6 separate regions of the Homo sapiens genome follow, and all the other regions are linked to region 2. Evidence: promoter capture Hi-C in human tissues and cell types (Jung and others, 2019). All regions are on one chromosome and are shown on one strand. The core of a region is centred on a gene start or on the middle of the fragment in contact, and the rest is flanking DNA. Distances in the headings are between cores, read along the strand shown.

What was found. Contacts are between HindIII fragments. The study calls those that stand out against the background at their distance.
Region 1: a contact is called between a fragment that was not itself captured here and the fragment with the promoter of FAM185A in region 2, in 5 of the 25 tissues and cell types used here (IMR-90 fibroblasts, aorta, mesenchymal stem cells and 2 more).
Region 3: a contact is called between a fragment that was not itself captured here and the fragment with the promoter of FAM185A in region 2, in 2 of the 25 tissues and cell types used here (H1 embryonic stem cells and mesenchymal stem cells).
Region 4: a fragment that was not itself captured here is called in contact with the fragment with the promoter of FAM185A in region 2 in 7 of the 25 tissues and cell types used here (H1 embryonic stem cells, IMR-90 fibroblasts, aorta and 4 more).
Region 5: the fragment with the promoter of LRRC17 here is called in contact with the fragment with the promoter of FAM185A in region 2 in 3 of the 25 tissues and cell types used here (IMR-90 fibroblasts, aorta and mesenchymal stem cells).
Region 6: a fragment that was not itself captured here is called in contact with the fragment with the promoter of FAM185A in region 2 in 4 of the 25 tissues and cell types used here (H1 embryonic stem cells, IMR-90 fibroblasts, aorta and 1 more).

What each region holds. Positions count from the first base shown.
Region 1 is chr7:102,987,692-102,991,797 of GRCh38, forward strand. The region is part of intron 7 of FBXL13 (F-box and leucine rich repeat protein 13); the gene reads right to left. NFE4 (nuclear factor, erythroid 4) reads left to right here. Exons shown (of 3, transcript NR_166512.1): 2 at 342-541; 3 at 684-1,162. Among named protein-coding and RNA genes, the nearest start is that of NFE4, 16 kb to the left of the region's middle. RefSeq lists enhancers at 3,825-4,106, 4,051-4,106. The HindIII fragment of the contact is 5,278 bases long and covers 1-4,106 here.
Region 2 is chr7:102,747,568-102,751,508 of GRCh38, forward strand. It overlaps FAM185A (family with sequence similarity 185 member A), which reads left to right and starts at 1,432. Exons shown (of 8, transcript NM_001145268.2): 1 at 1,432-2,091. The coding sequence starts at 1,641. It also overlaps the pseudogene RASA4DP. RefSeq lists silencers at 1,122-1,211, 1,252-1,421 and an enhancer at 1,155-1,449. The HindIII fragment of the contact is 9,642 bases long and covers 1-3,941 here.
Region 3 is chr7:102,952,078-102,955,697 of GRCh38, forward strand. The region is part of intron 9 of FBXL13 (F-box and leucine rich repeat protein 13); the gene reads right to left. Among named protein-coding and RNA genes, the nearest start is that of NFE4, 20 kb to the right of the region's middle. The HindIII fragment of the contact is 3,113 bases long and covers 45-3,157 here.
Region 4 is chr7:102,929,358-102,933,193 of GRCh38, forward strand. FBXL13 (F-box and leucine rich repeat protein 13) reads right to left here. Exons shown (of 21, transcript NM_001394494.2): 10 at 2,524-2,576. All of the region lies in intron 1 of LRRC17 (leucine rich repeat containing 17), which reads left to right. Among named protein-coding and RNA genes, the nearest start is that of LRRC17, 18 kb to the left of the region's middle. The HindIII fragment of the contact is 7,115 bases long and covers 1-3,836 here.
Region 5 is chr7:102,910,936-102,915,015 of GRCh38, forward strand. It overlaps LRRC17 (leucine rich repeat containing 17), which reads left to right and starts at 2,065. Exons shown (of 4, transcript NM_001031692.3): 1 at 2,065-2,210. It overlaps FBXL13 (F-box and leucine rich repeat protein 13), which reads right to left. Exons shown (of 21, transcript NM_001394494.2): 12 at 2,151-2,280. The HindIII fragment of the contact is 8,626 bases long and covers 1-4,080 here.
Region 6 is chr7:102,892,376-102,896,447 of GRCh38, forward strand. The region is part of intron 12 of FBXL13 (F-box and leucine rich repeat protein 13); the gene reads right to left. Among named protein-coding and RNA genes, the nearest start is that of LRRC17, 19 kb to the right of the region's middle. The HindIII fragment of the contact is 7,461 bases long and covers 1-4,072 here.

The sequences.
Region 1 (4,106 bases), core at 241-2,740, 240 kb after region 2:
CTAATCACTAATGGGACGTGGAGAATTTTTTTTAAAAGGAGAAGTCCAGGATGATTCCCACAATTCTAATTTGGATGACAAGTGATGACACCATTTACCAAGAAAGCCCAGGAATACAGAGGGGTGGGGAGTAGTCCCATAAGAGAGGTGGGGAAGTAACGGCTTCAAGCTGAACACGCTAGGGGGTAGATGCTATGAAATATTCCAGTGGAGTTACCCAGCAGGCATTGTTAAATGACCTGGGTCTTACAAGAGAGTGATGGCTGGAGATACACAGATTTGGCAATCGTGAGTAAACAGCATATAACTATAACCTAAAGCATGTATTTGAAATCACCCAGGGAGTGAAGATGGAATGAGAAGAACAGAGAAACAATGACAGAGTCCTTACAAACACCATGATACAAGAAGGCAATGGGGATATGTTATCCTAAAGGAATCCTAAAAGAAGTGATCAAAAAGGTGAACAGAAAACCAAGTGGGAGTACTGTCACTGAGGATGAGTTTCCAGAGAGAATTAATGCTGAAGAAGCTATTGCAGGTCAGTGGTCAGTCTAGCTAGCACTGCTTCAATGAAGGGTAAAGATATGCTCAGGAATGTCCACTTTAAGGGGCGGGGATGATACTTGCACTGGATGCTGCACTAATCAGATAACACTTGGAATATTTTTTTCCACCTCCAGACACTGCTGAGTATGAAGAACTAATTGGAGAAGGAAGCCGTTGTATAGCAGATGCAGAGCAGCAGCAAAAATGGTAATGAAAATAGAAGATAAATTAGAAAATTTGGAAAAACCCAAACAGATCAGCCATATTGAAGGGAAAAAGAAAAACAAAACAAAGTGGGAGGGCAGAAATGTAGAACGGTATACACTCTTTTAACCCCAAGGATGAATGTAGCCAAGAACACAGTGGGGACTTAGGAGTCTCAGCACAGAGCATTCTCTACTCCCTACTGCTCAGGCAAAGAACTCCTTCATCATGCAGAACCAAAACTGGTGTAGAGTCTTAAATGACCTGGGTATCTCTACGCAGAAGAAAGCGCTTTCCATGTAAAAGGATTAACTTGAACCTGGGTGCTCAAGGGACACCCTAGGCTGCTTATCCCACTGATTCTGATCTGACTGTGTTAAGTAATAAATCATGTGGTTACATATTCACATTATCTTGTGTAGTTTTCTCTCACATTGCTACTTAAAGAGAAACCCCAGACACAATAATGAGGGAGCTCAGTATAAGGGTATGAAGAGATCCAGGCAAGCTATAACCTGGAGAGCTCCTTGCCCTTCAGAAGGTGAGACCACTCAGAATGAGGGAGAAAACGTGGCCCAGCCCACTTTATGAGGAAGCTACAAACAGAATTCTTAGAAGACAGCAGCCAAGGGAGTAGCAGGGATGGGGACAGGGAGGGCTGAGACTAGAAACTCACAGAGGAACAAACAATTGAGTAAACTGGAAACAAGTAACCACAAAAGCACTAGAAAATAAAATGAAAGCTTTGCATGAATAATTGACAAATTTGATCTTCCTTGTGAATGCAGAAGAAGGAACTAGAAACAAAAGATAATGAGGCCGCTTTCTCTGCTTTGATCTGAAGGACAACTTTCTAATTATCTGATCTTTCCCAAGACAGAACAGAATGCATCGCAAAGTCAACAGACTCTCCAGCACAGAAAGTACTAGACCAAATGCTGGATAAACATTACTGCTAATGGAGACGTTTCATTGCCTTGGCCTCACATCTCTATCTAGAAACACTTTAGAAACACTCTGGGCCTCTCTCTCTCTACCCCTCATATCTTCCCAGGAGAAGAGGAGGAGTGTTTGGGAGAAAGAACTAGGCTTGCAATTCAGCTCCTGCTCCACCCTGCCTTGACCTGAATGCAAGATGCATGCATCCTGGTCTGCTCTCAGCAGCATAGGGAGGCCTGCAGTTGTTCAGCTGTGCAGTGACCGAGGGGCGAGTCTATCTGATTCAGGGATGAAAGAATGAAGTAGTATCCTTTGTCAGTGATCTTAAGTCATAGTCTCCTATCAGCTGTATCAGAAAATATGTCCACTTCCATCTCTCTATTTCTCAATTGGTTCCAAACTCAGATACGGAAGAGGGTGCCCTCTAAAACCTCAAGAACATCTGTGAGGAATATTTTCCTGTAAAAGAGGTTGGATCACATAACTCTAAAATTGCTGTATATGTAGAATTCAGTGACTCTTACTTTTCAGATACTTCTAGGACCTTCTAACTTAATGTCTCATTGACATTTCAAATTCACTGAATCCAAAATTAAGTTTCTCTTTCCCCAAAACCAGTTGACTCTCCCGACATTACTGCACATCATAAGTAGCACTGGCTTCACATTCATCAAGATTTAAAAGGTTAAAGTTTCCAAATAATAGGTAAATTGGAAATGTCCTTATCATGATTCCAAAGCAATGCCGACACCAGAGAGTGGTGGGTGAAAGCCTAGCTGTGACTGCCATGACCTAGTAAGAATGTAGGGCAAAGAGAGAGAGCCAAAGCCAACATCTGGAGGTACAGTCAGACCAGAGCCAACATCTGGGTGTGAGGAGAGAGCAAGAAACCTATCCTGAGGATAGAGAAATAATTCCCAGAGAAAAGAAACAGGAAATGTCATGCCACAGAAGCCCAGAATCAAGTGCTACTGAAAAAGCAAGACAAGAAGGGATCATAGGCAATCAGATTTGATGATTAAGAAATTCCTGGGACCTTGATGAGACCAAGTTTGTAATAGTGGAGCTGAAAAGAAAACATCATTTTTCATTCGATCATTCAACCAATATTTATTGGGCATCTACAGATTGTGAATTCAAAGCAGGTAAGACACTGTCCCTGTCCTCAAGGCACATATAGTCCAAGAAGAAAACACAAAATAGGCCATTATAAGAGAGTAAAAAGTATCTCAAGAGGGACTCTGGGAACAGAGAGGAAGGGTAACTAACCAAGACTGAGAGAGAGGACAGAGGATCAAAGGTAGCCTTTCTGGAAGAGATGACATCTGAGCTGAGCCTAAGCAGGACTGAGTAGGGCAAGGAAGAAGAGGAGAGAGCCTACAAAGAGAGCACGTGATGGGTGAAGGCATATGGCCAGAGAGGGTGCCTTGAACTTGGGTAACATGGAGTAACTCCACATGGCTACAGCCAAGGGCTCGTCTGGAGCAATGATGGAGAATGCAGCTGAGAGGTAGTGGAGGCTAGAACTGGAAATCCTCATGCAGCATGTTAAAGCCAACAGAGTTCAGGAGAGATTTTAACCAGGAAGTGACATGAATAAATGTGATCTGAGAAAGACAACTCTGGTGGACAAATGAAAAATAAGTCAGGTGGTCAAAGTCAACAGTCAAGAGTAGATGCCAGAAGACAAATTCAGTAGCTTTGAATTTGATAGTAATGTCACTAATAGACAATGAGTGCCAGAGAGAATGGAGAGAAGAAAGAAAGTGAAATTACATGCTAAAAAGAAAAAAATATGCAGTAGGGGGTAAAAGAGAGAAGTCAAAGATATTTCCAAATTCTGGCCAAGTCAGCTGAGTAGATGATAGTGCCATTCATTGAGAAACAGGATACAAGAGACAGGGTTGGACAGGATATGGGGGAAAAGGAAGGTTGGAGGAAGAAAATGATGAGTTCTGTTTTGGTAATGATGAATTGGCTTGTGCCTTTGGAACACCCAGGTAGAGACTGTTTAAAGCAGTTTTTGAGTGTCACAGTGGGCAGGTGGGAGGTAGTGTCAAGAAGTCTGCCAACACATAACAGGAGAAAAATAGAATACTTAGCAGCATTGAGAAATGATTTATAGGAAAGGAGTGAGTCAAACACATTTTTAGACATGAAGGAATAAATCAATAGAAAGAAAGAAATTTAAGATCATAGGACCAGGGAAGGCATGGGAAAGAGCAAGTTGGCAGTTCTCTCCTGTTTAATGTTACCTTGTAGTGCAATAAAAGGAGGGCTGTCTTTGGAACATAAAACACGGACTCTTGAGTTAATTGATAAATTGCTTCAATGCAAATCACAAGCCACCTGAAACAGATGGTAAACTGCTAAAATAAATTAGGTTCCACCAACCATTCCAATGGAACATTGTA
Region 2 (3,941 bases), core at 182-2,681:
AAATTTTAAAAAGGTAGTGGCTAGCAGAGAACCTGAGACTTGTACCCATGAGAACTTTAGCCCAGTCTATCTATCACGATAGCCCCAAGAATTCTGGTCATTGTACTTGGGTAAGGGCTTCTATTTTTTAAGGCACTTGCATTTTATGAAATGTTAGTGTTTGCAGGTGTCTTGGCTAAATAATTTAGGGAATACATTTTAGGAGGAAGTAGGGGCACAGAGGGGGAGAGAGAAACCAGGCAGGAAAGAAGAAAAAAAGAAAAAAGAAGAAAATAAATCTTTCTGTTCCCATTATTTTACTGCCTATAGAATTATAAAAGGTAAACACACACACACACACACACACACACACACACACACCCCTTATAGGGTCATTTAGAACCATCTTTCTTCATTTTAAAACTAAAGAAACAGGTCTAGGTGACACAGATGAAGCAGTGGCAGAGCCAGGAAAATAACCTGACCCTTGTCCCTGCTCTTTCCACCGCACCATGGTGACTCTCTTTTTTGTGTCTTTTTTTTTTTTTTCACTCTAAAACTGAGGATCATTTGTAGTCAAAGAGATCAATGCTATTCTCAAAACAAGTTCTGATCTCTCATAATTTTCTTGGTAACTCAGAATCAATGTTAAGTACGTTGAAATAAAAATACAGTTCTTTACACGGTAATTTTGTAGACTGTGCACCACGGTCCCATCCATTTTCTTACTTGATCCTTACAAAAACCCTTTGAGGCAAGGCAAGGAAGGTATTATTATCTACATTTTTAAAGTGAGCAAATTAAAACCCAAAGTAAGGTCACTTAGGGTCAGGACGGAGCAAGTACTCTATTCCTATATTTGGAATATAGGAGGGAATACACTTCCAAAGAGGCAATTCCCTCAAAAAGCACCAATCTTGCTCTTTACTTTCTTACCAAGGCATTCTCCATGCCCTGGAGATGCCCTCACTAAGTTAGTGAAGCTTGGATGTTGACATCCACAGAGGTTACTCCTAGTTTGCACCTAGTTGTCATCTTAAAAAGCGCAGTTTCTTACCCCTTCCCTTGGTCCTGATCCTTATTTAGGCTCCTATTTTTCTCTTTGGGATTTGGCGTCCTGGGTCTCACTCCAAAGCTCCACCCTCTCCAACCAAGAAGTCGCGTGCTTGGTATCCAAGGTGACCACGCAGCTTTACCCGCGTTGCCCCTTCCGTGCTTCCCATTGGCCAGTGGACTCCCATGTACCGCCCCTCCAATAGCCAATGGTCTTGAGACAAAGGGCGCCCGCCTTTCCAGCGATTCTAACACCTACCCTCTTACCCGTGCTCCCCTGCGCATTGCCTCCTGGGAAATGTGGTTTCTAAGAGGCAGAGCTCTGCGACTTAGAACTACCTATCCCGTCGGCCTTAGCGAAAGGGGGTGGACTTAGGCAAGGGGTCCAGGTCAGAGTTTAGAGCTTTCAAATCCCAACTTGCCCCTGGGGATTGCGCGGCTGATGTTTAGAACGCCTAGTCAAGCCAACCGGCTCGCTCTTGTTTCAGCAAACCCTGACTTACGTCTCCTATTTGACTTGAGGCGGCACAGTGGCCAAGTCGATTGGCCGTGGCAAGTGACCCTCCCTGTGGCTGAAGTGTTCTGAGGACTGGCGAGAGAGGCGCGCCATGCTTGCCCCCTGCTCAGGTTGGGAGCTTGGCTGCTTCCGTCTCTGTCTCCGTCAGGTCCGACTGTGGGCTGGCGCTGGGCGCTGGGCTTGCTGGGCTTGCCAAGCCAGGCCGTACAGCTCAGGTGGGAGCGAGCGCTGGCCCGGATCGGAGACTGAGGTCCCTCCGCCTGGCCCGGGGCGCCGAACTCTGAAGGAGTGGACACTGCAGGTGAGCCCGTTTGGTCGGCTGCGGGCGCGGCTCCCGTGCCACCTGGCCGTGAGGCCCCTGGACCCCCTCACCTACCCGGATGGCGACCGCGTGCTGGTCGCGGTGTGCGGCGTGGAGGGCGGCGTGCGGGGCCTGGACGGCCTGCAGGTGAAGTACGACGAGGATCTGGAGGAGATGGCCATTGTGTCTGATACTATCCACCCCCAGGCGTCCGTGGAGGTGAACGCGCCCCTGAAGTTTGGCAAGTGAAGTGAAGTGAAAACGGGTTTGGGTCCCAGGGAACGCACAGTGAACTTAATAAATGTGGTCGACGTGCACTTTTAATTGGTCCTGGCTCTCTAAACCTAATTTACAGTTGGCCCCTTCGGAAATGCACCTTTTCCTCTGTTCTGTTCTTGAGTGTCCGAGTAGTATTTAAAAATTAGGTTCCCAATTATAGAAATTTTATACATCGAATGGAAACATGATTTGGTATAATCCAGGTCAAATTCTATTTCTGGAGCCGCTTGTGTTCTCCTTTATCCCGTTGTCATTAGCAAACTGGCTTATTTTTCAAGGTTGAAGTTTCTTGACAATTCATTCAATGGTATGGCAGTCCATCTACATTTCATCTTGCTCACAGCCTGGGGGTCTGTCCCAAAACAGCCCTGTCAATAGGATGTTCCGGGTATCACCTGGTTTGAGTATTTGGTTTTAGACGGGCGCCCAGCTTCTTACTGTTATATTTCCATTCTTTTTGGCCTAAGTTTTCCATGAGTAGCAAGCTTTGAAGAAAAACACATGGTAAGCCTGCCTAGGAAGCTTCAATAATAATGCCTGCAAGATACCTTTCTTAGCTTTTCCTAAATGGCAAGCCACTGTGTACACACACTTTTCTAGGAAGGGCTCCCCAGACTGTCATTCTTCCTGGGACTGATGGAAGATATTGATGATGATGATGATAGTAATAATAATAGCATTTAGCATTTTTAAGATCATCTTTTATAATGCTTAGAGTTGCCCAAATAGTAGATGCCGTAGTCCTCCCTTATCCACCGTTTGGCTGTCTCAGTTTGTTACCTGCCTCAGCTGTTGTAGGAAAATATTAAGATATTTTGACAGATCACAGTAATATAACTTTTATTACAGTATATTGTTATAATTGCTGTATTTGTTATTATTGTTCATCTCTTACTATGCCTAGTTTATAAATTAAACTTGATCATTGATATGTATACAGGAAAAAACATAGAATATATAGGATTTGGTACTATTTGTGGTTTCAGGAATCAAGTGGGGGGGCGGGTCTTGCCTACTTTAAGAGAAATCATCAATATTTATGTTAATTCCAAATTAAATATCAGCGTTTTTAATTTTTAAAATTTGTATACAGAGATGCCTGCAGTTACATCTTAAATAGACAGCCAAGGATGGCATTTGTAATTCCTTATTTTCCAAACTTGCTTCATATACCACTGCCATTTGTCCACAATCTTGTGGGGTTTTTTGTTTGTTTGTTTTGGTTTTTTTTGAGACTGCATCTCACTCACTCTGCCACGCAGGCTGGAGTACAGGTGCACAATCATGGCCCACTGCAGTCTTGACTTCACGGTTTTAAGCAATCTTCTCGCCTCCACCTCCTGAGTAGCTGGGACTACAGGTGCATGCTACCATGCCCGGCTAATGTTTTTGTTTTTTTGTAGAAATGGAGTTTTGCTACATTGTCCAGGCTGGTCTTGAACTCCTGGGCTTCAAGCAATCCTCCTTCCTCGGCCTCCCAAAGTGCTGGTATTACAGGCATGAGCCACTGCTCATGGCCTAATCTTGTAGTTTTAATAGTATATATTAGCTTTTTCAAAGTTGTTCCCATTTTTAAAAAATTACTTCAAATACCTGTGATATAGTTGCATGGTAATATTTTCATTTTTTAAGTATGAAAGGTTAGACATAGGATTTGAAAACCTAAGTCATGATCATATATACTGGGGAAGAGGCTTCTACAGTCTTTCACAGGAGTACTTAACAGAATCGTAGTCTCCTTTACTTCCCATCTATGTTAGTTCTCTTTAGGTGATTTAGGCCAGTAGAAATAACTGCTCTGTTTCTAAAAAC
Region 3 (3,620 bases), core at 351-2,850, 200 kb after region 2:
GTAAGCCAGGCACAAAAGAACAATTATTGTTTGATTCCACTTATATGCGGCACCTAGAGTCATCAAATTCATAGAGATGGAAAGAAAGTAGAATGGTGGTTGCCAGGACCTAGGAGGAGGGCAAAAAGCGGATTTAGTACTTAATGGTACAAACTATCAGTTTTGTGAGATGAAAAAGTTCTGGAGATGCATCAGTGATGATGGTTGCATAAGAATGTGAATATACTTAATGCTACAGAACTGAACACATAAAAGTGGTTAAAATGGTAATTTTTAGGTTACATATTTTTTACAACAATGAAAAAAGAACCAAATGGTTGTTTGAAACAATCAACAAAATTTGCAAACCTTTACCTAGACTGACCAGGAAAACAAGAGGAAAGACTAATATTATTAAAATTAGAAATGAAAGTGGGTACATTAGTACTGACTTTACAGAAGTAAAAAGGATCATAACAGAATATTATGAACTGTTGTACCCCAACAAATTAGATAAACTGCATGGAATTGACAAATGCCTAGAAACACATGAACTACCAAAACTGACTCGAGAAGAAACAGAAGATCTAAATAGAGCTATAATAAGTAAAAATACTAAATCAGCAATCAAAAAACCTCCAACAAGGCCAGGCACCATGGCTCATTCCTGTAATCTCAGCACTTTGAGAGGCTGAGGCAGGTGGATCACTTGAGGTCAGGAGTTCTAGACCACCCTGGCCAACATGGCAAAACCCCGTCTCTACTCAAAATACAAAAATTAGCTGGGTGTGGTGGCACGCACCTGTAATCCCAGCTACTCAGGAGGCTGAGGCAGGAGAATCACTTGAACCCAGAAGGCAGAGGTTCCAGTGAGCCAAGATTGCACCACTGAACTCCAGCCTGGGTGACAGAGTGAGACTCCATCTCAAAACAAACAAACAAACAAACAAACAAAAAAACCCTCCAACAGAGAGCCTAGGACCAGATGGCTTCATGGGCAAATTTTACCAAACATTTAATCCTCAAACTTTAAACCAAACATTAATCCTCAAATTCTTCCCAAAAAATAGAAGGAAAAAATACCTCCTACCTCATTCGATGAAGCCAATATTATCCTGACAAGGAAGCCAAAGACATCACAAGAAGGAAAAACTACAGAGTAATATTCCTTTTAAATATAGATGCAAATATCCTCAAAAAATATTAGCAAAGAGAATCCAGCACCATATTAAAAGGATTATACACCATGATGTACGAACAAGCAAGACTGATCTCAGGCATTCAAGAGTGGTTCAACAGACGAAAAAAAAAATCAATCAATGTAATATACGCAATAATAATAGAAGGAAAGAGGGGAAAACCATTTCAGTTGACTTAGAAAAGGCATTTGACAAAATCCCATCACCCTTTTATAATAAGAACACTCAGTGAAGTAGGAATATATGGGAGCTTCCTCAATGAGCAATTGTGTAAGAAAAGAAAAAAAAGGGAGAATGGGTATGAGCTTCCTCTTTGGGCTGATGAAAATGGTCTAGAATTAAATAGTGCTGGTTGCTCAACATTGTTAATATAATAAAAAACACTGAATTGTACTCTTTAAAATGGTTAAAAAGGTGAATTTTATGTTACATAAAATGTATCTCAATAAACAAAAGCTTCCAGATAAGCATGCCTTGCTATTTCTCAGAAACTCATTCCACTGTTCAACTACCATTGCTATCATGAAAATCTTAGGTCAAACTGAAACCCTGAATGTTGCAACTTGAGTCCATTTCCTTCCTTCAGAAAATGCAGATGTATTTAATAGTATATTTTCTATGTATATTTCATATGTGTATATATGTGTGTATACACATATACCTATAGGGAAAGAGGGACAGACAAAAACAGAGAAACAAGGGGTGTTCCAAGATGGCCGAATAGGAACAGCTCCGGTCTGCAGCTCTCAACATGATCGACGCAGAAGACGGGTGATTTCTGCATTTCCAACTGAGGTACCTGGTTCATCTCACTGGGACTGGTTGGACAGTGGGTGCAGCCCACACAGGAAAAGCCAAAGCAGGGCAGAGCATCGCCTCACCCAGGAAGCACAAGGGGTCGGGGGATTTCCCTTTCCTAGCCAAGGGAAGCCATGACAGACTACCTGGAAAAATGGGGCACTGCTGCCCAAATACTGCACTTTAACATTCTTAAAGAAAATAATTTTCAACCCAGAATTTCTTATCTAGCCAAACTAAGCTTCATAAGTGAAGGAGAAATAAGATCCTTTACAGACAAGCAAATGCTGAGAGATTTTGTCACCACCAGGCCTGCCTTACAAGAACTCCTGAAGGAAGCACTAAACATGGAAAGAAACAACCGGTACCAGCCACTGCAAAAACATGACAAATTATAAAGACCATCACTGCTATGAAGAAACTGCATCAATTAACAGGCAAAACAAACAGCAAACATCATAACGACAGGAAAACATTCACACATCACAATATTAACTTTAAATATAAATGGGCTAAATGCCCCAATTAAAAGACACAGACTGGCAAATTGGATAAAGAGTCAAGACCCATCAGTGTGCTGTATTCAGGAGACCCATCTCATGTGCAAAGACACAGGTAGGCTCAAAATAAAGGGATGCGGGAAGATCTACCAAGCAAACGGAAAGCAAAAAAAGGAGGGGTTGCCATCCTACTCACTGATAAAACAGACTTTAAACCAACAAAGATCAAAAGAGACAAAGAAGGCCATGACATAATGGTAAAGGAATCAATTCAACAAGAAAAGATAACTATCCTAAATATATATGCACCCAATACAGGAGTTTCCAGATTCATAAAACAAGTCTGTAGAGACCTACAAAGAGACTTAGACTCCCACACAATAATAAGGGGAGAGTTTAACACCCCACTGTCAATATTAGATAGATCAACAAGAAAGAAGGTTAACAAGGATATCCAGGACCTGAACTCAGCTCTGCAACAAGCAGACCTAATAGACAACTACAGAACTCTCCATCCCAAATCAACAGAATATACATTCTTCTCAGCACCACATCGCACTTATTCTAAAATTGACCACATAATTGGAAGTAAAGCACTCCTCAGCAAATGTAAAACAACAGAAATCACAACAAACTGTCTCTCAGACCACAGTGTAATCAAATTAGAACTCAGGATTAACAAACTCACTCAAAACTGCACAACTACATGGAAACTGAACAACTTGCTCCTGAATGACTACTGGGTAAATAATGAACTGAAGGCAGAAATAAACATGTTCTTTGAAGCCAACGAGAACAAAGACACAACGCACCACAATCTGGGACACATTTAAAGCAGGGTGTAGAAGGAAACTTATAGCACTAAATGCCCCAAGAGTAAGCAGGAAAGATCTAAAATCGACACCCTAACATCACAATTAAAAGAACTAGAGAAGCAAGAGCAAATTCAAAAGCTAGCAGAAGGCAAGAAATAACTAAGATCAGAGCAGAACTGAAAGAGATAGAGACACAAAAAACCATTCAAAAAAAAACAATGAATCCAGGAGTTTTTTTTTTAAAAAGATCAACAGAATTGACAGACTGCTAGCAAGACTAATAAAGAAGAGAGAAGCATCAAATAGACTCAATAAAAAATGATAAAGGG
Region 4 (3,836 bases), core at 593-3,092, 180 kb after region 2:
AGAGGGAGAAATTAATTCTGTCAGCTGGGTGCGGTGTCTCACGCCTGTAATCCCAGCACTTTGGGAGGCCGAGGCGGGTGGATCACTTGAGCTCAGGAGTTCGAGACCAGCCTGTCCAACATGGTGAAACCCCATCTCTACAAAAAAAATTCAAAAATTAGCCAGGTGCAGTGGCACGTGCCTATAATCCCAGCTAATTGGGTGGCTGAGGCAGGAGAATCACTTGAACCTGGGAGGTGGAGGTTGTAGTGAGCCACGATGGCACCACTGCACTCCAGCCTGGGCAACAGAGTGAGACTCCATCTCAAAAAAAAAAAAAAAAAAAAATTAATTAAGTTAGAAATTAACTGTCAAAAAGTGAACAGAATTGCATAGGGCCGGGGGTTGAGAGAAAATGAAGGGTGACTGTTGATGGGCATGGGTTCTGTTAGGGGTGAGGGAAATGTTCTGAAGTTGGTTGTGGTGATGGTCAAACAACTCTGTAAAAATACCAAAACCATGAAATTGTACACTTTAAGTGGGTAAATTTAATCTCAATATAAATATAAATTTATTATATCTCAATAAAGCTGTTTATTAAAGGTCAATAAACAAAGAGAATGGAAAGACCCGATAGCATTGAAGAGTGTGTTAAAGAATGAACAGGTGTTAGCCAGTTTGGGCTAGGGGTGGTGGGGAGGGAAGGGTAGTCATTTAGGCAGATGGAAAAACAAGTTCAAAGACACAATGAAATAGCATGACATGAACAGGGAACTTCAAGTGGTTCAGTATTGAAATAGAGTAGAATTTTGAAAGAAAAAACTAGAAAGATGAGGCTGTAAAAATGAGGCTGAGAGGTAGCAGGGAGGGGCCAATTCATGCAGTCTTTTCACCAGCGAGGAGGGCTTGGCCTTCATGGTGGAGCTGGTGCCTCATGATTGGCATTCCACAGCCAGGCTTTTCCTCCTATTCCCTCCTATCTCGTTAGGGACTTACTCCATGAGTTGCTTCAGCTGACTCTCCATCATCCTCTATAAACCTGTTTCCATTTCCCTGCCCCTGTTTTCCTTCTACCACTCTCTAAGACACTTTTCTGGAAAGATCAGTTTATGCCTAATGCCTCACCTTCTGACCTCTTCTCCACTTCACAATTCATTGCAAGTAGATTTCTGCTCCAATATCCCACTGAAACTGTTGAAGCAATAATTGGCAGTCCCTTCTGATTCTCAAATCTACAATGCATTGTTCAGTCCTTTTCTTACCTGTTCACTTTGGTTCTTTCTGAAACTCTTTACTCACTTTCATTTTGTGATACCTCTTCATTGTCAACCTACTTCTCTTACTATTCCTTCTGAATATCCTCTGTTCCTAAAAGTCAGCATTCCGTAAGGCTCAACTTTAAGTCTGCTCCTCTTCTCAAACCTTCTAAGTTGATCTTATTCACGCTTATGATGTTAATTATGACTTATACATAGATGTCAACCCAAGATGGAATCTCAATTCTAGTCAATGTTGTCCATTGCCTACTTGGTATCTCCAGATAGTTGCATTCACTAAATATTATTGAATATAATATGCCAAAGTTCGTGCTGTTGTGCTATGACTACCACAAAGAACAAGACACATCTCCTGCCCTTTGGGTCTCTTAGGCTAGTGAAGGAAGCCAAAACCCTATGGTTAAGGATACTTATCATAGGAACCTAGAGGAGCAGCAGTGAACCCAGCCCTGGGAGCCAGTGATGTCTTGGTAGAAGAGGTGATAATAAGACTTAAAGCTTGATAAAGAGGAAAGCACCACTTGGGGACAAAGGGAAAGGGCATTTTAAGCAAAGAGCAAATGCACAACTGCAAGGAGCAACTTGGAGCATGCAGGAAAAGGAAACTCAGCAGCTGTAGGCACTGCAAATTAGTGTGTACACAGAAACTGAAACAAGTGAGGCTGGAAAGGGAGGCAGAGGCAAAACCACAGAGGGTCTTCAAGGTAGAGTAATATTAAAGAGCTTTGGCTTTATCCAACTGTGTAGATGACGGCAGTGTGTGTAGCTGGTGGAAGATGAGAGTGAAGTAGTCATATCTGCCTTTTACAAAGAGTATAAAGTGCTCACAGAATGGAAGACAGGTTGGGGACAGAGGGAAAGACTGGAGACAGGAACCAGGAAGAAAGCAACTAGGGAAACATATTCATTTCCATCTTCTTTGGCACAGCTGTTGATAGCCATGAAGATAAAATGAGCCTATCATGTCTACTGGGGCCCAATTTTTTTCTGTCTCATACACACATACCATTAAATATAAATACAGTTCATTTTGGGTAGTCATTGAAGAATTTCTACTTGCCAGAGGCTCCAACACTGAGCATACATCTACATGATTAATATTAGCGTTGTGCAGATGGAGTAAAATTTCTTGTCAATGTTTAACATAGTTTGCTCTTTTCCACATTGAATCCCAAATAAGCACACAAGCATCTATTCTGCATATTGGCACCCCAATGTAGCAAGTCAATCTATATAAACAGCAGTAAAAATGGTTGCTTATACTCACTGTGAATGTTGGGCAGTCAGAGACATTCAACTCTTGCAAGTTCCTACAGTGGCCTAAATCAAATAAGTTACACGTCACTAAACTACATATTGCAAATGTTTAAACAAAGTTTTTCTATCTTACATTGAATGCAATGTATTCATTAGAAAACAAACAAAAACCTTGGCAAGTAACATGTTCTAAGTATATGGTTTCTTTCCCCAGAAAAATGGCTTTTTTGGGCTTCAGAATTAAAATACACAGACATGTTTATTATTGTTTGAGGATTATAGGAGTAAGGGGAAAAGAGAAAAATATTACTTTGGGAAAAACACTATATACTTAGAGCTTTTAGCTTGAAAGCACTTGAAGAAAACCAACCTGGTTTTTTGTGCCTGCTTTTTTATTTTTTTGTTTTCATTTAACATTTTATTATGAACATTTTCAAACATACACAAAAGTGGAAAGAATTGTACAATAAATATCTATATAGCCACTACTTGGATTCTAATTTATCTTTTACTGTATTTGCTTTATCACATATCCACCCACTCATTCATCTCTATCTATAGCCCTCAATCATCTTATTTTTGTATGCATTTCAAAGTAAGTTGCAGACACCAGTACACTTCCCCCCAAATACTTCAACATGTATATCATAAATAATTCAGCATGTATAATAATAAACAGAATAGTTGACATACAGAATACAATAGTTATTCTGTTTGTTTGTTTCGTTTTTTTGAGACAGTTGAGACAGGATCTTGCTCTGTCAGCCACGCTAGAGTGCAGTGGCACCATGTTGGCTCACTGCAGCCTCAACCTCCCAGGCTCAGGCGATCCTTTCACTTCAGCAACCCCTACTGTCATTCCCAAGTAGCTGACACTACAGGTGCATACCACCATGCCCGGCTAATTTTTGTATTTTTTGTAGAGACGGGGTTTCCCCATGCTGCTCAGACTGGTCTCAAGAGATCTGACTGCCTCAGCCTCCCAAAGTGCTGGGATTACAGGCATGAGCCACCGCACCTGGCCAGAATAGTTATTTGAGAGTAATTCATCAGTTCAACAAATACTTATCAAGGAGATATAGCAGTTAACGAAATAGACACAAATATTTTCCCTTAAGGAGTTTACTTTCTAGCGGGGAGACACTAACAGTAAACAAAAGAAGTTAAATACCATATCTACTTTGACAGATGGTGGTAAGTGCCATGGAGAAGAAAGAAGAAAAGGGATTGGGAGCACCCAACAAGTGGGAAGAAGTGTGATTTAAAATAGGGCTGAACAGGAAGTTTTCACTGAAAAGGTAACATTTGAGCCAAGACATGCAG
Region 5 (4,080 bases), core at 815-3,314, 160 kb after region 2:
TTCTGGTAGAGACGTGGGTCCCACCATGTTGCCTAGGCTGGTCTTGAACTCCTGGCCTCAAGTAATCCTTCTGCCTCAGCCTCCCAAAATGCCAGGACTACAGGCATGAGCCACCGCGCCCAGCCTAAAAGCATACAAAGGTGTTTTTTCTCTGTAGATAGTTGTTAACTTGGTGTCCTTGGGTGGGGAACAATGGGTGGAGCCTTCTGTTCCACCATCTTGCTTCACCTCCTCCAATTATGTGTGTTTTGTATGCATATCTGGGCAGTAGGTCATAGATTTGAAGCCTCTCATTTCAACTTTACTGTGTCTGAGAATATTTATCCTTAGGACACTTGTGTATACATTTGTGTGTTGTTGCTACAATAATTGCCTCATGGTAACTGAGAAATTGATAAGAAGAAGGAGGTAAGTCATACCATGAGGAGGGTTTAAGCACAACGGCGAGTTAGAAAAGTACTGAAGGATTTATAGTTAAGGGGCAGGCTTATCAGTGGGATATGTCAAGCACATTAAGTTGTTCCTGAGTTTGCAAATATTTTTCTCTGTGATTGGGCCATTGGCATTTGCTAATTGGTGCCCATCAAAGTTAGGCTTCTACCCACCCACAGGAACTGAGAGATATCTTCTTTGATGATTATATATCAAAGGGATAGATCCCAGGTCCTTGAGGAAGACTTTCCTGAGTTGTAAAACTGTCAAGAAGCTTTTGTTAAAAAGACATCTCAAAGTAGGCAGAGAAAGAACTTATAATTCCAAGTTTTCTAAAACAAATGCTCTAAGAAACAAGAAAACAAGAAGTCAGGGCCTAGAGTCAGTAAGAAGCTGGTCTAAAATTCAGTCATGCTGAGGAGAACGTCAATGCCATCTCAGTCATAAAGTTATGGTAGATGTTGATGTTTAAAAAGCTACACATCAGCAGATCAGTTTTAAACAAATATGAATGTTAGATGTTTACAGCCCTAACTTAGAATCCTCCCCTCCTTGCCCCAACTCCCTCCAGACCACCCAGGGCATCAGGATACCACAAGATGTCAGTGGAGGTGACTAGGTAAGAATTCTATCCATTCAAGAACCCTGGGGGAGAAACCCATGCTGCCCCTGTATTTCCCACTATCCCAGGGAACTCTGCCTGCCCCAGTATCTAGCAACAGATGCTTAAAACTGTACTAGTACCATGTGCTTTCATCAGCTGTGCAAACTTGGGCAACTTATTCAACCACCCTGAGCCTTGGTCTCTTCATTTGTAAATAAGCATAGTAAATACATACCACCACAGCACTGTATCAGAAGTAAATCTGATCTGTGTATAGCACTCAACACAATGCTTGGCATATGGTAATGACTCAAGAAATGATAACTATCAATATTTCAGCCAGTTCTCACCTATGCTATTATTCTCATAGAATAATGAACATACTATGACACCAAATTAATAAAATACACAGAGAGGCAGAAGAAAATAAGTTAAAAGAATTATGGCTTAAATCTTTTGAAATTAAAGCAGAAGAAACTATCAATGAGGCAGTAGCTACATCCAAAGCGCCATGCCCTATCCTCTGCAACTTGATCCAATTTTCTGCCCAACTTTCCAAGTCCTGTTCCCTCAAACTTAAAATATTTTCCCACGCAGATCTCAAATCTTCATGTTATTCAGCCCAACGGTGTAATGCAATTTTTTAAATTATGAGTTTTTGTTGTATTTTCTTTTCCTATTTATCACTTATAGCATTTTACCCCCCCCCCCCCAAAAAAAAACCCATGTGGGAGTTAATTGACTTTTCAGGAATCCCATGCAAAATTCTCCCTCAAAACATTCTCTTTGTTTGTGTCTTGGTAGCAACTCCAGAGTTTTCAGGACTTGGACTCTGCTTTAGACTTGTGCTCAGACTGTCTCCACAAAAGTGGTCCGTTTCCTCATCCAATGAGCTCTGCCTGTTTGTCTGTGTGACACTCCAGTGGAAGGAAGCCAAGAGCCTATAATAGCGATCCTGGGGAAAATTTCAGCAGCTGGGGCCATGTAATTTAAAACCTCTGAAAAGTGTGCTGCGGTCCGTGCACAGCATTAGTATAACGTGAGGGCTGAATGCAGCCCATTCTCTGGAGAACTTCCTCACACACCGCAGCAAAGAGAAGACTGAAAGACAAACCTGGGTGCAGCCAGAGAGGTCCAGATAGATGAGCTTGTGGCATCCATTCCCCAAGTTCAGGTACTGTAAGCCTTTGTCTGTGAACCGTCTGCAATAAGCCAAACTAAGATTCTGTAAGTTGTGGAAGTGCCTGAAAAGACAAAAGAGAGGAAGGAAAGTATTATACTTCCGTTGTTCTCTCAAATCTTTCTTAAGCCACTATGACAAAGAAAACTGTAAATTCAACTCTTCTTCTTGCAGATGTTCAACATTTAACTTTACTGTTAACTCTCTACCTGTTAATTAAAGGAGACTACAGTGTTATATAAGGTAACACACAATACATTTAATACCTTGTAATACATTTCAAGTGAAAGTATTAATAGTTCAATAATATTTGCCTAGATATTTAAGAAAGTTGACTGGGATAAAGCTTTTTTGGTGTGTGTGAGGTGGGGGAGGCAATCATATTGTTTGGAAGTGAAACCAAATTTGCAGAGTGTATTGTTGCTTTTAGGTTTTATCTCTGGAGTACCAAAATAATGTGCAAAATATATAAAAGGACAAATCCTTTGTAAACATTTAAATGGAGACTGTTACAGGAGAGTGAGGATTTGGGACAGAAGGCAAAACTGAATATGACCATGCTCTTAAAATAGATCTGATAAGCAAATGAGTTTAAAAAATAGGTTTAAATATGCATGAGTTTGTGACAGTTTCATTATTATAGTTAAAGAAAGACTAATTGATATGCAGAGTTTAAGCATGGATTAAGAAGACCAGTTTGCAAATAAGCAGGCAACACATGAGAAGAATCAAAAGCAACATCAGAGACTATAAATCTCGCTGGAGTTGAAACAGATTAAATATGGTATTACCACAATGACCAAAATGACAGCTTCCAGAAAAAAGTAGGGTAGTTAGGATGAGCCTGTACTACCATACGAGGGCTCGCAGTTTGAGGACACTCCGTGGACAATTTCCCAAGCCCTCCAAAGCCTGGAACTTTTTTTTGAGACGAAGTTTCGCTCTTGTTGCCCAGCTGGAGTACAATGGTGAGATCTTGGCTCACTGCAACCTCCTCCCCACTCCCCCAACCCCTGGTTCAAGCGATTCTCCTGCCTCAGCCTCCCAAGTGGCTGGGATTACAGGCGCGTGCCAACATGTCCAGCTAATTTTTGTATTTTTAGTAGAGACAGGGTTTCACCATGTTGGCCAGGCTGGCCTCGAACTCCTGACCTCAGGTGATCCACCCGCCTTGGCCTCCCAAAGTGCTCGGAACAGGCATGAGCCACCGTGCCCAGAAAGCCTGGCACTTTTTAAGAGGTCAAGGATTCCCACTACTATCTGCTCTTCTAATGGAATTAGCAATCATGCTCTTAGTTTGTGATATGCAACAGCTTAATAGCAAATTAGAAAGCAAAAAGAATGAAAAGTGAGGAGAAAATGCTTCTCTGCCTCTCAAAATCACACAGGTGAATAAAGTTTACCTCCCATAAATGGGAAATAAGATATACAAGCACTGACCATTAATCAGATTTTGAAAAACACATCTATATGATATAATGATTTGCATGCCATAGCGAATTACTTGATTCAGAACACACATCCCGATCTGGGAAGGGCTGTGTACGTGAGATTCGACAGAGCGAGGGGGAAGGCTTTGGACTCACCAGTGACTAGGTGGGCAGGGCCTGAAGGAGAAAGCAGTGCTAATATCCCAAAGACACGCCCCCTCTCTTGGGGCTGTCGAGTGGACTGAGCTGTGCTAAAGTTTTGGAAATGCGTTATCTTCCTCTCCCTGGGGTACACCCTGTGATTCAACTGAGTACAATTTTCTTGGGGTGGGGAGAGGCACACCAGGGTGTCATTTCTAGCAATCCTTTAGCTTTATAATCTGTAGAAAGGAGTTGTGAGGCAGGCCGCGTGACACAGTGCAAAATACACAAGG
Region 6 (4,072 bases), core at 721-3,220, 150 kb after region 2:
ATAACTGTTATGTTCCAATGAATAATTTTAACAACCATTTAAATTTATATAAGTCCGATTTACAAGATATATAAAAATGTTTTCATAAATTCTACAATTTTTTTTCAACACAGGTTGAAGTCTGGTTCAGAAAGGACACAAACCATTCCTCTAACAGGGAAACTGAGGCACAATAACTGACCCAGAAAAGCAGGAATTGCACTGTGATTTTTTTGACTCATAACTACTTTTCCACTAGAACTCCTCCTTATTAAATGATACTTAAAACCACATATTTTTTCAAATACAAAATGCAACAATTTTTTTAACCATATGTAGTATAGCACTTTAGTTTCACAAATGATATTCTTATATTAAAAACCAAGGTAGTACATACTCAAAATGTGTCACTTCCTCATTTTTACCACATTAGCATTATCTATGTTCTTGAGGATATTAATGTCTATCATTTCTCTAGAATATTACACAATAATGTGCTACTGCATATCTCTTCCCAACTTCCTGTTGGTAGCTTAAAATAGGCCATGGTGAGAGTATTTACACCATAGAATTCAGCCAACACTAAAAAGTCAGGCTTTTCCTGCCCTTTATTATTCCATACAATAAAGGAAAATGGAATCAGCCAAATATAAGTGCATCACAGTTTTGAATTTAACTGTTTCCAATTCATTTTGATACATAATCTGGTCATTCACAACTGGTTTAGCTGGTCACAAAACTCTTGTTGTTCCAATTAACGTTTATTGACAGACTTCCAAATCTATACCTTCACTCCCAGCTCTCTTCCAAGGACCAGACTTCTACTTCCAATTTGTTCTTGTCATTTGTACCCAGATGTATCACAGCAACCTGAAATTTGGCCTTTCCAAAATAAGATTCACTATTCTTTTTTCTCCAATCTTGCTCCTTTTTTGGTTATCTTGTCTAGTTACCATTTAGAAACACAAAATCCTAAAGCTGAAAAAGACCTTAGAGGTTATTTAGCCCAGCCTAGCCATTCTACAGGTGAAGGAATCGAGGCAGAAAAACCAAGTAACTCCAAGGTTACACAACTGGTTAGTAGCATAACAAGAAATAGATCCCAGGTCTCCTAACTTCAAGAAAGGAGAGGCTGGGCGCGGTGGCTCGCGCCTGTAATCCCAGCACTTTGGGAGGCCGAGACGGGCGGATCACAAGGTCAGGAGATTGAGACCATCCTGGCTAACACAGTGAAACCCCATCTCTACTAAAAATACAAAAAAAATTAGCCAGGTGTGGTGGCGGGGACCTGTAGTCCCAGCTGCTGGGGAGGCTGAGGCAGGAGAATGGTGTGAACCTGGGAGGTGGAGCTTGCAGTGAGCCGAGATCACACCACTGCACTCCAGCCTGGGTGACAGAGCAAGACTCTGTCTCAAAAAAAAAAAAAAAAAGAAAGAAAGGAGAAGGATGAGGAGGGAATGGGGGAGGGGGAGAAGAAGGGGAAGGGAAAGGCGAAGGGAGAGAAGAGAGGCGGAGAGGAAGAAAGAAAAAGAAAGAGAGGAAGGAAGGGAGGGAGGGGAAAGAAAGAGAGAGAGAGACAGAGAAAGAGAAAGAAAGAAAGAAAGAAAGAGAGAAAGAAAGAAAGAAAGAGGAAAGAAAGAAAGAGGAAAGAAAAGAAAGAGGAAAGAAAAGAAAAGAAAGAGACAAAGAAATTCCTCCCCTGACTCTTGCTTTGCTTATGCAATCTCCATTCAATTTGGCTAGTACATTCATCCCTGGACATGCCTGTGTGGCTTTCTCCAACCTCCAACACAAATCCCAGGGGTGAACAAGTAAGACCTTCCATGATCTCTGCTTCTCTGAAAGGAGAAGGTTGGAATTTATGTAACCTAGAGAGAACTGAAATGACCTTGGAATCTTCCAGTTTGCAGTTTGTACAGCCTACCTTTAAGTTTCGTGGGCTCTAGAGAGATTTAACAGTACAAGAACTGATAAGCCATTATTACTGCATTGAGTATTATAATCATTTGAACATTCCTAGAATACTGTCCCTTTTCATTTTTTGTTGATTTGTGTATAGTGATTAAAATATAATTGGTGAAAAAATAGAGTGCACATGGTGACTCATGCCTGTAATCCTGGCACTTTGGGAGGCTGAGGTGGGAGGATTGCTTGAGCCCATGAGTTTTAGACTGGCCTGGACAACATATTGAGACCCGTCTCTAGAAAAAAAATTTGAAAAGAATTAACCAGGCTTGGTAGCATGCGCCTGTAATGCCAACTACTTGGGAGGCTTGAGGCAGGAGGATCCCTTGAGCCCAGGAGTTTGAGGCTACAGTGAGCTATGATCACACCACTGTACTACAGCCTGGGTCACAGAGAAAGACTTTGTCTCTTAAAAAAAAAAAAAAAGAGAGAGAGAGAGAGAAAATACTTTCATTTTATATTTCATAGCTTCCTAGGCACTTTTCTTTCTGTAAATTTAAAGAAATATCAGACTTGACCTTACCAAGAAAAGAGATCATCAAGCCTTGCTCTAGCAAGTTACCAACTTCCCACTACGTAACAGGCATCCTGAGCTTCCACCTGAAGCACCTGGGGAGGCATGCCCTGAAATTGGCCACAGTCTCATTCATTCATTTGTCAAGCTTATCAAAGTCCTACTATGAGCCAGGTATTGTATTATTTGCTAAGGATACAGATACACAATTATATAAGGCACCATCCCTGTTTTCAAAGAGCTTACCTTGGGAAGGAGAGCAGACAAGCAAGCAGATAATTGAATATGTAGAGAATGCTTAGTGAAAAGTACAATGATAAAAGTATACACAAGAGGGATACTAACCCAGCTTGGAATAGGGCAAGGAACGGCTTAGTGAGGCCCTTCTAGAGAAGGCTGTGATTGAACAGAACCTTGAAGGATAAGTGCAAGTTAATGTGGTGAATGGAGGAAAGGGACAGTAGCAGGATGTCCAGGCAGAGGGCAAAAGGTGAGCCTAGTGAAACAACTGAGGCTGGAAATGAAGAACAGGGGAGGCACCGAAGCAGAAACCCCTATGGCAAGCTCCCCTACTGTCTGGTTTCACTATCCTAAATGTAAACATATAAATCTGAAACACGGTCCAAACTCCTCACTTTTCATCCAGCTTCTTCTCCAACTCCACATTCAGAGTTGTTGGTTTCTAGGCATTTGGGCTTGAACCTGAGCTTGAGTGGGCCTCAGCCTTGCTTCCCAGCATGTCTGGTTGTTCCATGCCTGGCTTCCTGCAGAGGGCCATAACCCATCGTTGCACACAGTTGAAGATACATGAATCTGTAGGGAAAGTGGCTACCCCATGATAATGTCAATGGGAGAATTGTTGGAGTTACACATAAACAGAGCAGAGGATAAAGGGAAAGTAAAACCAGGAATCATCACCCTCCCAATTGGCACTTTCTCATGTACAAGTAGGATAGCTTTGTTCTCCCCATTAAAACTCTTTCTCCTACTCATATTTTCCATTCTGAGACTCCAAGAGAAACACGGACATATTTTAGAGAGCTCTGAAATGAACTGGGAACTAATGTGAATCTCCTTGGAGCATTTTAGCTAGTACATTTTATCCATTCATTCATGGGAATATTTAAGGAAAGACTTAGAGGAAGTTAACCACGAAGATATCTGTAGAAAGATTCCAGACAGGGGAACAGCCAGTGTGAAACCCTGCAGCATGAGCCTGCTTATGTTTTTGAAGAATAGAAAAGAAGCCAGAGTGGCTGGAGTAGAGTTGGCAAGAAGGAGAACAAGAAATACTGTCAAAGGGGCAACTGGAAGATGAGACAGATTTCTCAGGGCCTTGTAGGTCCTTCCAAGGCTTTTCTTTTATTAAATGAATAAGAAGGCTTGCCAGGTACTTAAGCAGAGGAAGGACATTGACTTGGGTTTTTAAAGGATGCCTCTAGATATTATGTTGAAAGTAGACTTGCAGGAGGCAGGGGTGAAAGCAGAAAGGCCAGTTAGGAGGCTATTGGAATAACCAGGCAAGAGATCATGGTAACTTGGACTGGGGTGGTGGCTGTGGAGATGGTGGTTGGATCCTGATTAGATTCTGCAGGAATAGTCAACTGCACTTCC